Linked DNA regions of Homo sapiens: all the other regions are linked to region 1. The links are contacts of gene promoters, found by promoter capture Hi-C in blood cells and fetal thymus (Javierre and others, 2016). All regions are on one chromosome and are shown on one strand. Each heading gives the region's core, a stretch centred on a gene start or on the middle of the fragment in contact. The rest is flanking DNA. Distances are from core to core; before and after follow the strand shown.

What was found. Contacts are between HindIII fragments. The CHiCAGO score rates a contact against its expected background, and 5 or more counts as called.
Region 2: a fragment that was not itself captured here is called in contact with the fragment with the promoter of TFEB in region 1 in 1 of 17 cell types (naive CD8 T cells); the score reaches 5.0 in naive CD8 T cells.
Region 3: a fragment that was not itself captured here is called in contact with the fragment with the promoter of TFEB in region 1 in 2 of 17 cell types (total CD8 T cells and non-activated CD4 T cells); the score reaches 5.5 in total CD8 T cells.

Annotation. Positions count from the first base shown.
Region 1 is chr6:41,732,853-41,737,137 of GRCh38, reverse strand. TFEB (transcription factor EB) reads left to right here and starts at 1,530. Exons shown (of 9, transcript NM_001271944.2): 1 at 1,530-1,788. It overlaps PGC (progastricsin), which reads left to right. Exons shown (of 9, transcript NM_002630.4): 9 at 134-427. The coding sequence ends at 286. It overlaps MIR10398 (microRNA 10398), which reads left to right and starts at 3,528; the gene lies at 3,528-3,584. RefSeq lists silencers at 1,372-1,841, 1,882-2,411, 2,542-2,981 and enhancers at 3,632-3,741, 4,232-4,281, 3,638-4,285. The HindIII fragment of the contact is 28,952 bases long and covers 1-4,285 here.
Region 2 is chr6:42,135,728-42,140,217 of GRCh38, reverse strand. All of the region lies in intron 1 of C6orf132 (chromosome 6 open reading frame 132), which reads left to right. Among named protein-coding and RNA genes, the nearest start is that of C6orf132, 4.6 kb to the left of the region's middle. RefSeq lists enhancers at 3,324-3,563, 3,259-3,956. The HindIII fragment of the contact is 2,308 bases long and covers 600-2,907 here.
Region 3 is chr6:42,169,567-42,173,488 of GRCh38, reverse strand. It overlaps GUCA1ANB-GUCA1A (GUCA1ANB-GUCA1A readthrough), which reads right to left. Exons shown (of 5, transcript NM_001319062.2): 2 at 1-156. It overlaps GUCA1A (guanylate cyclase activator 1A), which reads right to left and starts at 125. Exons shown (of 4, transcript NM_001384910.1): 1 at 1-125. The HindIII fragment of the contact is 1,549 bases long and covers 1,410-2,958 here.

The DNA of each region.
Region 1 (4,285 bases), core at 281-2,780:
CTATGAGCCCTCAAGGCAGAGACCCTGGCTCCCTCAGCTCTGCACTTGTGCTCCCAGCCCAGGGCTCAGAGCTGAGCAGGGCCCAGCTCATGTGTGGACAAATGAATGAGTGCTGCCTTTCTTTGTTGAGCAGAACAACGGCTACTGCACCGTGGGAGTCGAGCCCACCTACCTGTCCTCCCAGAACGGCCAGCCCCTGTGGATCCTCGGGGATGTCTTCCTCAGGTCCTACTATTCCGTCTACGACTTGGGCAACAACAGAGTAGGCTTTGCCACTGCCGCCTAGACTTGCTGCCTCGACACGTGGGCTCCCCTCTTCCTCTTGACCCTGCACCCTCCTAGGGCATTGTATCTGTCTTTCCACTCTGGATTCAGCCTTCTTTTTCTGGACTCTGGACTTTCTCTAATAATAAATAGTTCTTCTTTATGTTGGTCATCCTGTTGTTTTTGGAAGGGAGTTTTCCCTGAGTGGCTACAAGGTTTCCTGGTGGGTCACTGTGATTCTAAGAGAAATGGGACCTAAGGCATGGCTTGGGATGGGCTCTGTAACCCTCAGAGCTTAAAGTTCATACTTTTCCCCTGGAAAGGGAAGACAGTGGTAGCGCCATCATGGGTGGGTGGGTGGCGGGCCGGGGGAGAGTGTTCCTACTTGAGTCACAGAGAAATCGAGCCTATTTGCTGGAACCAACTCAGCAAGGGATCTTGTCCCTTTGGACTTCATCCCTGTCCTCCTCAGGAGCCTCTTAGCAAAAGATCCAGAAACCAGGAGCAACATTGTATGTGGGGAAGGAGGAGAGAGAGGAAGAAAAGGAGGAGGGGAAGGAGAAGAAAAGCAGGGGAGGGGCTGGGGGAGGAGACAGGGAAAAAGGGGCGGGGAAGAGGAGAAAGTAGAGAATGATGCCTCCGCACCCTGTGAACTTCCAACAAGGGAAGGTGACATGAAAGGAGCTCAGACAATTTCTGTCCAGCAACATGACAGCAAGCTCAGGCTGGTGAGTGGGGCGTGAATGTAGAACCCATAATGGGGGCAGGCTGCCTTCTACTGTCATATTTTACCCTGTACTTCGCCAGGCTCACCCTGGCCTTGCCCCTTATGATCGGGGCAGGGATAAAAGTGCAAGATCCAGGTCCTGCACCCTACTCCTGAAGAGAAGCTGGAATTTGCCACAGGTGGAGTTTCTATGGCAACAGCACACCATCTGGGACCCTCTCTTTCTTAGACTGCCGAAGGACAGCAGGCTGCAGGTTCCTTTTAGGGGGTCGGACAGGCTACAGAATGTATCTTAGTGAGCCCTGGTTTGGGACTTTACTGAGAGGAGAAAGAAAACTTGCAAAGAGGTAGAAGTGGATCAGAGGTTCCAAGTCAAGAGCCTCTTTCCCTGTAAGCCTTAGTCCGCTGAGCGGGACTACAAATCCCGGCGTGCCTAGCGGGACTGCAGCGAGAACTACGCTTCCCAGTGGGCGCCGAGGCAGAGCGGCTGGGAGGCGGGGCGGGTGCTGCCCTCTGCCGGGCGCGGAGGGAAGTGTGCGTGGAGTGACAGCCGGAGCCCGGGCGCCGGGCGCGGGGCTCGGTGACAGCGGAGGCGGCGGCCCGGGCGGGACGCAGGGAGCGGCCGCGGCGCCGACGGCGGCGGGAAGGGCGGACGGGGCGGGCCTCCCTGGTGGCACGGGGCCGGAGCAGGCCGGGAGCAGGTGGCGGGCACAGCTTGCGGGCCAGGCACCCGAACTTGCGACAAGTTGCCGGAGCCGCGGGGCGCGGGCGGCGGACAGATTGACCTTCAGAGCGAGGTGAGCGGGACCGGGGAGCGAGAGGCACGAGGAGGGCCCGGGACCCCCGACCCAGGCTCCCTGGCCCCTATCCCGTGGGTCCCGGAGACAGGTGGGAGGGTGGGGGATGCCGGCAGGAGAGGGAAGCAGGACCGTGCGCGCCGCCACCCACCCGCAGTCCGTCCGCCCCCGGGCGCCCAGCGCGTGGCCCGAGCGGCGCTGCCCGCCGAGCCGGGAGCCCCCTCGGCCCCTCCCTTCAGGCGCGGGCCGGGGGCGGCTTCTCCGCGACCTTATGTAACCGGGCGGGAGGGGCCGGGCGGGCATGGGCCTTCCCGGCCCGGAGCTGGGAGTCGAAGGGGCGGGAGGCGTGATGGTGAACTCGCAAGAAGTTTGAGGGACGCGCGGGCCCCGCGCCCACTCCCCCTCCACCGGACACGGCTGGGGCCGGCGATGCCTGAGAGGGGGTCGGAGGTAGGGGAGGTGTGCGGGGGCTGAGTCTGGCCAGGCCAGCGGGGGGAGTGGGAGGGCCAGAGCGGCGCCACGCCCCGGGGGCTGGGCTGATGGGGGGGCGGGTGGAAGTACCATCTCTCCCTCCCTTCCCGTCCCTTCCTCCAGCTCGGTCTCTTGAAGAAGCCGCCCCTGGCCCCGTCCCCTCGAGTCCCTGGGCAGTCTCTTTCTCCCCGTGGGTTATTCTATGACCCTGGGGAACACCAACCCCGGAGCGCTCCCTCCGTGCGCCCCGTTGTCTGCCTCCCCCCGGGTTCCCAGCTGCCTGCCCGCCCCCCGAGTTTCCCCCTCCCCCCGTCTCGGTCCCGAATCCCGGAAAACACGCCCCCTTCCCCCCGATCCCCCGAGTCCGTGCCGCCCACCCCTGGGCTGTCCCGACCAGCTCTGGCCCAGCGCGTCCGCTCGCCTCCTGGAAGGGAGCGGGCAGATGCCAGCTCGGCCCCCTCCCCGCGCGGGGTTCCGGCTTCACGCACGGCTGCCCCGAGCTGCTCCGGGCTGCGCGAGCAGGTTCGCGCCGCAGCCGCCTGGCGCGCCCCAGCCCCGCGCCCCGGGTGAGGAAGGGAGGGAGCCCGGGGCGGGGCTTGTCTGCGCGAACCCCGCTGGGCCCAGGCCCCCGCCCTCCGCTCTCCGCCAGCCCCTGGCCGCTGCGCCTTCCCCCGAACCCCCCTCAGCTCCAGCCGTCGTTCTCTCGCCTGTCTGTTCTGGGGACGGTTCAGCGCGGAGCTTCTGCACTCAACTTGAGCGCAGTTTTTGGCTTAGAGCTCGCTGGGGAAGTGCAGGTTAATTACTGCCCAGCTCCCATCCTCTGCCCTCCCCCCATCCCGAGTGAGGGGCTGCTTCATCCCTCAGGGAAAGGGACAAGACGGATGCAGGCCCCCAGTGACACCTCTGGGGTGTGGCCTCAGGCCCCTGCACCCGCCCTGGCCGAGATTCCATTGGCCCAGACCTGGCACTGTTGGGCAGCTGGGGATGAGGTTGGAGGCTGGTCTCTGGTTTCCTTCTGGGTGGACAGATGCGGATGCGCTCGGTTAGAACGCAGTTCTTGGTGCCACGACTGGGAGACAGTCCTCAGGCCCTCCCCTCAGGGAGCTCACTGTCCGGGGAGGGACAGCCAGCAATAGTTCCTGGCCGGCCAGGAGAGGCAGAGGCAGAGGAAGGGAAGGGTCAGCTGCCTTGAGGTCCCTGCCTGCTAACCTGACGGTATGCTTTCACCATGCCGGTGACCCCAGCCCCAGGACCACGAGCAACTCGCCTGGCTCCCTTCTCTCCGTCTGCCTCCTGGCCGCGGGGCCCGGAGAGCTGGGAGCCAGAGGGTGTAAATGAAGGGCAGAGCTGTTTGGGTGACTCCATGCTCTGCTTCTCCCCGAGGGAAGCCAATGGTGCTTACCATTTACAAGGCTTGTTACAGCTGCAGGGTTATTTTGTCCTCAACTCAGCTCTGGGAGACGGAGCCAAATGGGGACCCAGGTATCTTGGTTCCGGGTGCCCTGGAAGGAGTTCAGGGGATAGGGCAGGGGACACCCTAGGTGGGCACTGAATCTAGGGAGAGCCAACTGGGCTTTTACGGGCTAATGGCCTGGTGACTCACAGTCAGAGGTGGGCAGGGAGTGGGCCAGGGCAGGCAGGAGCCCTTCCAGGGTCCCACGTGCGCTGTCACAGGCCTCCTCAGCCTGTTTCTGGAAAGCTGAGAAGTAGGTGGAAGGGGACTCCCACCCCTCAAGTCTGGCTGCCCTTTGAGGGTCTAGCTCTTGGCCCTGAGCCCTCCTGGGGCTCTGTTTATGACTGTAATTGCATCATTAGCCAGAGTTAATAGAGTTACTTAGCACCTGCCCCCACAGGGAGTAGCCCAGCCACCCCCTGGGTTCTGTCTCTTCCTTTTCAAAGTCAACTCGGTTTCTGCAGGCAACAGGGGTTTCCCCAACCACAGCTGTCATGAAAACCAGGTTGGGCCTTTGTCCTGGGGATGGAGGGCAGTCAGCACTTGGGGCCTGGCTTGGGGCTGCCCTGGAGA
Region 2 (4,490 bases), core at 504-3,003, 400 kb before region 1:
TGGAGTCCAAAGGACAGCTCCTCCCGTTCCTCAAGGCAGGGCTGGGCCTCCAGCTGACTCAGCTTGGTCTTGCCTGCACAAGGAGCCATGGAAAACATCATGCACCCAGCAGAACAGCGCCTCAGTGTTTCCGGGGTGTTCCCTGGGGTGCCACTGGGCGTGGCAGAAGTCCTCCCTGCTCTGCTTGGAGTTAGGGAGAGGAGGGACCAGTGTTGGGGATTCTGTGATGGGATGCAGGTGCAGCCCTGCCTTGGCATCCTGTCTCTGTCAATACATAGGGCTAAGCACTCTCTGGGCCTCAATTTTTTCTTCTGTTAAAGGGGATAGTGTCCAGGCTGCCTGCAGGGTAACTGCCTGAAGCGGTATTTATGGTAGTGCTTTGAAGAGCATTAAAACAAAAAGCTCTAAACAGGGTGTCCAATCTTTTGGCTTCCCTGGGTCACATTGGAAGAAGAATTGTCTTGGGCCACACATAAAATACACTGACACTAACAATAGCTGATGAGCTAAAAAACAAAACAAAAAAACGCAAAAAAAAACCCCTCATAATATTTTAAGAAAGTTCACTAATTTGTGTTGGGCCATGGGTTGGACAAGCTTGCTCTAAAGCAAGGATTGGCAAACTACAGTCCTGGCTCCATTCTGGCCCATGGCCTGCTTTGAGGAATAAAGTTTTATTAGAACATAACCAACTATGCCCCTCATTTACATATGGTCTATGGCTAGAGTTGAGTAGCTACAAAAGAGACCTTATGGCCTGCAAAGGCTAACATATTTACTATCTGGCCCTGTACAGAAAAAGTTTACTGGCCCCTCCTCTAAGGCATGATTTATTATTGGATCGTTCCCAGCATGGAGCACTTCCTGCCCTTGCCTGCTTCAGCTCCTCTTCCTAACACTGCTGTAGAATAGAGGAAACTGAGCCATGAAAAGACTATTTCAAAGTCTCAGAGAGAGTGGGATTAGAGTTCCATAGGGCCCCTGAGTCTGTGACATTCCCCTCAAGCCTGGGGTGAGATGCTGGCGATATCCAGCCCTTAGAGAACAGGCGGTGGAATGGAAGGGAGGAAAATCAATGTAGGGATGTGTAAGGGAATTAAGGAGTAATCAACTGTTTGCTCTGTGGTTGCAGCCATGTAAAAATCTGTTTGCACAAGGGTAGGCTGGGTACAGCGGGTAAATGCAAACAGTCATGTGAGAGTGGTGATGAGCAAAAAAATTTTCTTTACAGAATTTCTCTAATATGTATTCCAGCAATTAGGAGGGCTTCACTGAATGCATTTGCAATCCTAACAAAGTCTTCTGCCCTCTCCCAGCCCAAGCAAGGCCACACGAGTGTGTGTGTGTGTGTGTGTGTGTGTGTGTGTTTAAATGCATGAGAAAGCAGAGATGTGGATCTTCGCAAATCCCAAGATAAAGGACTGGGCTGTTACTGGAGACAAAGCTGCCAGTCACTCAGGACTCCTCCCTTGCATCTTGGATTAACTGAGCCAAGATTCTTTATCTACCACCGCTGCACCCGCCACCAGCAATGGGACACCCTTGTTTGCTAGAGGACTCTCTTTCCTACCCCGTTCCTCTAAATGGGACAGCTCACAGCTACCTCAGACATTTATTTGAAATGCAGATTCTGGGCTGGGCGGTGGCTCACGCCTGTAATCCCAGTGCTTTGGGAGACTGAGGCAGGTGGATCATGGGAGTTTGAGGGCAGCCTGGGCAACATGGCAAGATCCTGTTGTCTCTACTAAAAATACAAAAATTTGCCAGGCTTGGTGGCATGCACCTGTAGCTGCAGCTACTCAGGAGGCTGAGGCGGGAGGACTGCTCGAGTTCAGGAGGCAGAGGTTGCAGAAAGCCAAGATTGCGCCACTGCACTCCAGCCTTGGTGGCAGAGCGAGACCCTGTTTCAAAACAAAAAACAAAAACAAAAACAACCCCAGCACTTTGGGAAGCCAAGGCAGGAGGATTGCTTGAGCCTGGGAGATAGAGGCTGCAGTCAGCTATGATGGCACCACTGCACTCCAGCCTGGGTGACAGAGCAAGATCCTGTCCTCCCCCACCCAAAAAAATTAATTTAATTAATTTCAAATTCCTAGGGTCCCACCTCAGGCACAGGAAGTCAGAATCTCTGGGCTAGGGTCTGGGCTCTGGGGGTTTTTTGAGACGGAGTCTCGATCCGTTGCCAGGCTGGAGTGCAGTGGCACGATCTCGGCTCACTGCAACCTTCTACCTCCCGGGTTCAAGCGATTCTGCTGCCTCAGCCTCCCCGGCCTGCGCCACCACACATGGCTATTTTTGTATTTTTAGTAGAGACGGGGTTTCACCATGTTGGCCAGGATGGTCTCGATCTCCTGACCTCGTGATCCACCTCCCCCGCCCCGCCCCGCCCCGCCCCGCCCCCGCCCCTGCCTCGGCCTCCCAAAGTGCTGGGATTTACAGGCGTGAGCCACCGCGCCCAGCCTTTGGGCTCTGGGTTTTTAACCAGCTCCAGGGGAATTGTTTTGTGCGGGAAGATATGAGAATCCTGGTATTTCCTTCCCCACATGGAGCAAGGCTATTCTCTTTCCCTTTAGGACTCCCTGCAGGGCACATGGTAGGTTCTACATAAATATGGAAAGAATGTCACCAGCTCCTTATCAGGAGGACCCTCGTGCCCTCTGGTGTGGCTGCAGGTTCTGGTGTTCCTGTTCCCTGGGTCTCCTGACCCTTTGTTTCAGGCCCGGCTAAAGAGTGGGAAACTCCCACCTCCTACCCCGGGAGTCAGGAGCTGAGCATATATTTCCAACCAGGGCCAGGCTGGCACCAGCCTACCAACTTTTGTTTACTCCTGTTCCCTGGAGGTGTGCTGTGGTTTGCCGGCAGTCCAGTGCACACATATACACCCTCCGCCGCCCCATTGTATAAGCTTCTCTTGTCACTCTAGTTCAACTCCAGAAAGCCAGGCCTGCCCTTGACCCCTACAGACCAGCTACAAGGTGCCCCTTCTCTCCTAGCCAATAGAGTAATGACAGTAATGTAATTATTGTCACCAGGCTCTGGACTAAAAGCTTTGAATGTCTTCTCAATTGAGGAAACAGACTCAGAAGCAAGGCTCAGATAGGTGAAATGACTCAGCCATTCCAGTCCGGGGTAGCTCAAACATCAAAGTGCACCCAGTCATCTGGAATCTTGTTAAGATTAGATTTGTTTCGGTAGTTTCGGGATGAAGGGAGAGTCAGCATTTCTCACAAGTTCTGGGGTCTGCACACTGAGTGGCGAGTCCTAGCTTGGAAGCCGAGGGCCCTGTTCACTCTGCTCCTCCCCCTTAGTCCCACCTGCAGGGCTGGGGGGGCGGCGCCATTCTGTTCCGTTTCTGTTCCGTCCTCCTCTACTTTGTGGCTCCCTGCCCCTCCTCCCCTCCACTCCAGTCGAATCTTCAGCATCCCCTCTGCCCTTGGACAAAGGCCTCTCTCTGGTCCTCAGGTCAGGCCTGCTGGGACTTGCTGGGAAAGACTGGCCTTTTTAGGCTCCTGTCCTGTGGACTTGCTAATTAGCAAGGAAAGGCCTCATTAAAGCCATCTGTGAGTTACATTCACATGGGGCCGCCCCCGCTGCTTCCCTGAAAGGCAGGGGGTCCCCTAGTGGCCGATGATTGGATGCCACACTTCATACTTCACTGTCCAGCACCCCCATTCTATATCTACGGTGAGGGAGAAGTAGAAAGAGGTCTGTTTTGGGATTCTGGGTTACTCTTAGTCAAGGCAAAAACTCCCCAAGCTAAGGCCCGAATCCTCCTAAGCCCCAGGAATCCAATTAGATCTGTAGCCGGTGCTCCTGAAGTCATTTAGGGGCTCCTGGCAATTTGGGGCCCCAGCCCTCCTCTCACTCCGGCTAGCTTCCTTCCCTCTCCTGATTTTGGGAGGCTTCCGGAAAAGTATCATCCTCATTTTACAGGTGGGGAAACAGCCCGACAAAGTGTTCAGTGTCCTCAGGTATTATATGGATGTGAATCCAGATATGATTCCTAGGCCCATTTCCTCCCCTCCAGGCCTTACCAACTTTCTTTTTTTTTTTTTTGGATGGCTTACAGGTAAGTTTTTATTTTTTTTTTATTATTTTTATTATTATTATACTTTAAGTTTTAGGGTACATGTGCACAATGTGCAGGTTAGTTACATATGTATACATGTGCCATGCTGGTGTGCTGCACCCATTAGGCCTTACCAACTTTCAAGTCTCATTCAGGAAAAACAAGAGATGGAGGGGAGAGACGCTGAATCCCTACATTCCTTCCCTGCCATGCTGGCTATGACATGAGGGAATCAGAGTCTAGAGTCATGTTGCCTGGCCTGGAATCCCGGCCCCTTTGACTCACCAGCTGTGGGAACTTGGGCAAGGGACTTAACCTCTCTGAGCCTCAGTTTCCTCAACTGCAAATTGGGAATAATAAGGGTACTTCCCCCATGGGGTGGTGAGGGCTTAGAATAGTGCCTTGCTCATAACACAGGCTT
Region 3 (3,922 bases), core at 935-3,434, 440 kb before region 1:
CAAAGAAGGGCCTGATGGATCAGATGGTACCGGGAAATGTGGAGAGGGAGAGAGCAGAAGGAAGAAGATGATGGCCCACACTCAAACTCACAGATGCCAGAGAACTGGTGTTAAGAGTCTCCACTAAATCCTTGCAGCCCCAGGGGAGACTGTACCCTGGAGAAAAGAGTTGAAAATAGAACAAGGCTTAGAGAAGCAGAGTCCTTAGGATTACAGCCTTGAGCTGTAGGTGAGAGGATTTTTTAACCCAGTTTGCAATCTTCTAATCCCTTCTTACCACCACGGAGTGGGTGTCAGCTAGAAGCTGCTCTGATCCTATGACCTTTGTGACCTTCTTCTCCTGGTTTGAGTGGATTCACAGTGGTTTTGGATTCTGCCTTCAATCATGGAATTGAGGTATATATGAGATAGAGCTGGCTTCTTGTCCAGAGATGGCCAACTGTGGGCTCTTGACAGGGCTGCTGTGTACAGTTATCCAGGCTGTGCACTGCACTTGGCCATCACAACTGAGGGGGTCCAATCATACCATGAGTGTGCTAACATTTGAGGGCACCTGGGTGGATGCAGAGTCTGTGGGCTTCCAAGATAAGCCTTGAACAGCCAGAGAGAACCCCCTCCTACATTAGCCTGCACCAGTACACAGAGACGTGCACACACATACACACACTCGTACACACTCATCCTGTTCTGGCCACACTCTCATGTTCCTGAAGGTTGCATCTCTCCCTTCTTGAGAGCCCTGAATTCATCCTTCCATCTAATTCTGAGCCTCACATCATCACCATCACCTACTAGGGGCACAGGGCAGGGGACATGGAGTGTGCGCCTGGTGCCCTGGGGTATGTGTGAGTGTGAGAGTGCAGGCACACAGGTGCATGGGTGAGCTGCTACCTGCTGGTCCTGGAAAGCTCCCAGGCCAAGCCTGGGGGCCTGTCTATGCAGCAACAGCTTTCTCTGATGCCTGGTGGGATGCGTACTCCCTAGCCACACACTTAAAAGCTGGCTCATTTATGGAACCAGCATTTGGGTGCAGGTGCACTTAACCTGGATGCTGCCAGGAAAGCTTAAAGCCAGCGCTTGCCCTGCCCTGTCTTTTTCTCTTGTTTGCCTTCCTCCTTTACATATGGGGCACACCCAGGTCTCCTAACTCATCTAGAGGGAACCACTGCCCATATTTCTGCTTTCCCCACCAGGGCCTTGGACACTTGGTCAAGTTGTGCACTGATACACAATTTATATGATTTATATAAATAATATATAATTACATGTAAATAGATTTATATAAATATACAATTTATACAACATATAACATATATCAAATACATGTGCATACATATTTCAGAATGGGCTAGGTTATGCTACAGTAACAAACCACTCTAAAATCTCAGTGGCTGAAAACAATACAAGCTTGTTTCTTGCTTACATTACTGGCTGGGTGACCTTGAGCAAGTAACTTAACCTCTCTGGGCCCCAGTTTCCTCATTCTTAAAATAGGAATAATGGCGCCCATCTGATAGGGCTGTTAAGGGGAGTAAGTGGGGCTGGGCACGGTGGCTCACACCTGTAATCCCAACATTTTGGGAGGCCGAGGCGGGTGGATCACTTGAGGCCAGGAGTACGAGACCAGCCTGGCCAACATGGTGAAACCTCATCTCTATTAAAAATACATAAATTAGCCAGGCGTGATGGTGCACACTCCTGTAATCCCAGCTACTCGGGAGGCTGAGGCAGGAGAATCGCTTGAACCCAGGAGGCGGAGGTTGCAGTGAGCCAAGATCGCACCACTGCACTCCAGCCTGAATGACAAAGCGAGACCCTATCTCAAAAAAAAAAAAAAAAAAGAGTATGTGAGTTAATATAAGAAAAGCATTTAGAACAAGGTCTGCCCCAGAGTAAGTGCCCCATAAATCTTGGCTATGATGTTATGATTTTGTATCTATTACAGCAGCATGTCTGATGTGCTGTTCACTACAATCTAGGTGCACTTATACTGCATCTTGGACACAGCAGCATCCCTGGGTTAGAGCCAATCGTGCTCTTGTCCCTTTAGCCCCATTCACTCTGGGCCCTGGACGGCCAGAAGGGCTATGTGTAGGAACAGACATCCAACCTGCCTCACACAGGCCACCTACCAGCTGTAGTCAGGCCCTAGGGAAGGTGGAGGCCTTTGTTAAAGCCTTACCAGATCCAGGCTCACGCCTGTAATCCCGGCACTTTGGGAGGCTGAGGCGGGTGGATCACAAGGTCAGGAGTTCGAGACCAGCCTGGCCAACATGGTAAAACCCCATCTGTACTAAAAATACAAAAATTAGCCAGGCATGGTGGTGGGCGCCTGTAATTCCAGCTACTTGGGAGGCCGAGGCAGGAGAATCACTTCAACCTGGGAGGCGGAGTTTGCAGTGAGCCGAGACTACGCCATTGCACTCCAGCCTGGGCGACAGAGAGAGACTCCATCTCAAAAAAAAAAAAAAAAATTGTTCATAATGAACATATGTTGCTCACAAAATCAAAGAGGATAGTTATTTTTGAAAAAGAGACAAACTGGGACTGTTTTACCTCTACTCCACATGAATTGATTGACGGAAGGTATATGGGGGTGGGGAGCTGGGTTCTCCCTGCTTCAGTCAGCTTCTCCACAACAAGTTAAGGGACGGGGAGAGAAGGACTCCTTCTGTGAACTTGCTTGGGGCCCAGCTGGAAAATGTGTCCTTGCCGAGGACTCTCAGGCCCAAGATTGGGAAATGAAGAGGTTGGGGACAAGGCAGCCGCTCATCTTTCCCTTTCTATTTAAATCCCTCTCACTCTTCATGTGTGAGTACAAATGCCACCTCCTCTGTGAAGCCTTCCCAAATCTCTCTCAAATATCTTCCTCCCACAGCATACTGACATTTTGCTTATGTGTTGTGACAGTTAATTTTAGGACTGGATGAAGGGATTACCCAACAAGCTGGTAAAGCTTTATTTCTGGGTGTTTCTGTGAGGGTGCTTGCCAAAGAGACTGGCATTTGAATTCATGGACTAAGTAAGGAGAATCTGCCTTCAGCCTATGTGGGTGGGCACCATCCAATTGGCTTAGGCCTGGACAGAAGAAAAAGGCAGGGGAAAGGTGAATTCTCTCCCTCTCTCTCTCTCTCTCTGTCCTGGAGCTGGGACACTCTTCTTCTCCTGCCCTTGGACTCCAGGACTTGCACCAGTAGCAACCCCTCCCCACTCTCACGTTCTCAGTCCTTCAGCTTCAGACCCAGAGTTACACCATCAGTTTCCTTGGCTCTGAACCCTTTGGGCTTGAACTGAGCCATGCTACTGGCTTCCCTGGTTCTCCATCTTGCAGATGGCATATTGTGGGACTTCTCAGCCTCCATAAACATGTGAGCCAATCCCCCTAATAAATCTTCTCTCATACCTCTATATATAATCCTATTAGCTCTGTCTCTCTGAAGAACTCTGGCTAATGTGTGTGTTATATTAGTTTTCTATGTTGCATAACAAATAACCACAAAGTCAGCAGTTTTAAAACTACACACATTTATTATTATTATTATTATTATTATTATTATTATTATTATTATTATTTTGAGATGGAGTTTCACTCTTGTTGCCCAGGCTAGAGTACAATGATGCGATCTCGGCTCAGCACAACCTCCTGCCTCCCAGGTTCAAGCAATTCTCCTGCCTCAGCCTCCTGAGTAGCTGGGATTACAGGCATGTGCCGCCATGCCCCACTAATTTTGTATTTTTAGTAGAGACAGGGTTTCTCCATGTTGGTCAGGGTGGTCTCAAACTCCCGACCTCAGGTGATCCACCTGCCTCAGCCTCCCAAAGTGCTGCGATTACAGGCATGAGCCACCGTGCCTGGCCACACATTTATTATCTCACAGTTTCTATGGGCCAGGAGTCCAGGCACAGCTTAGCTGGTCCTCTG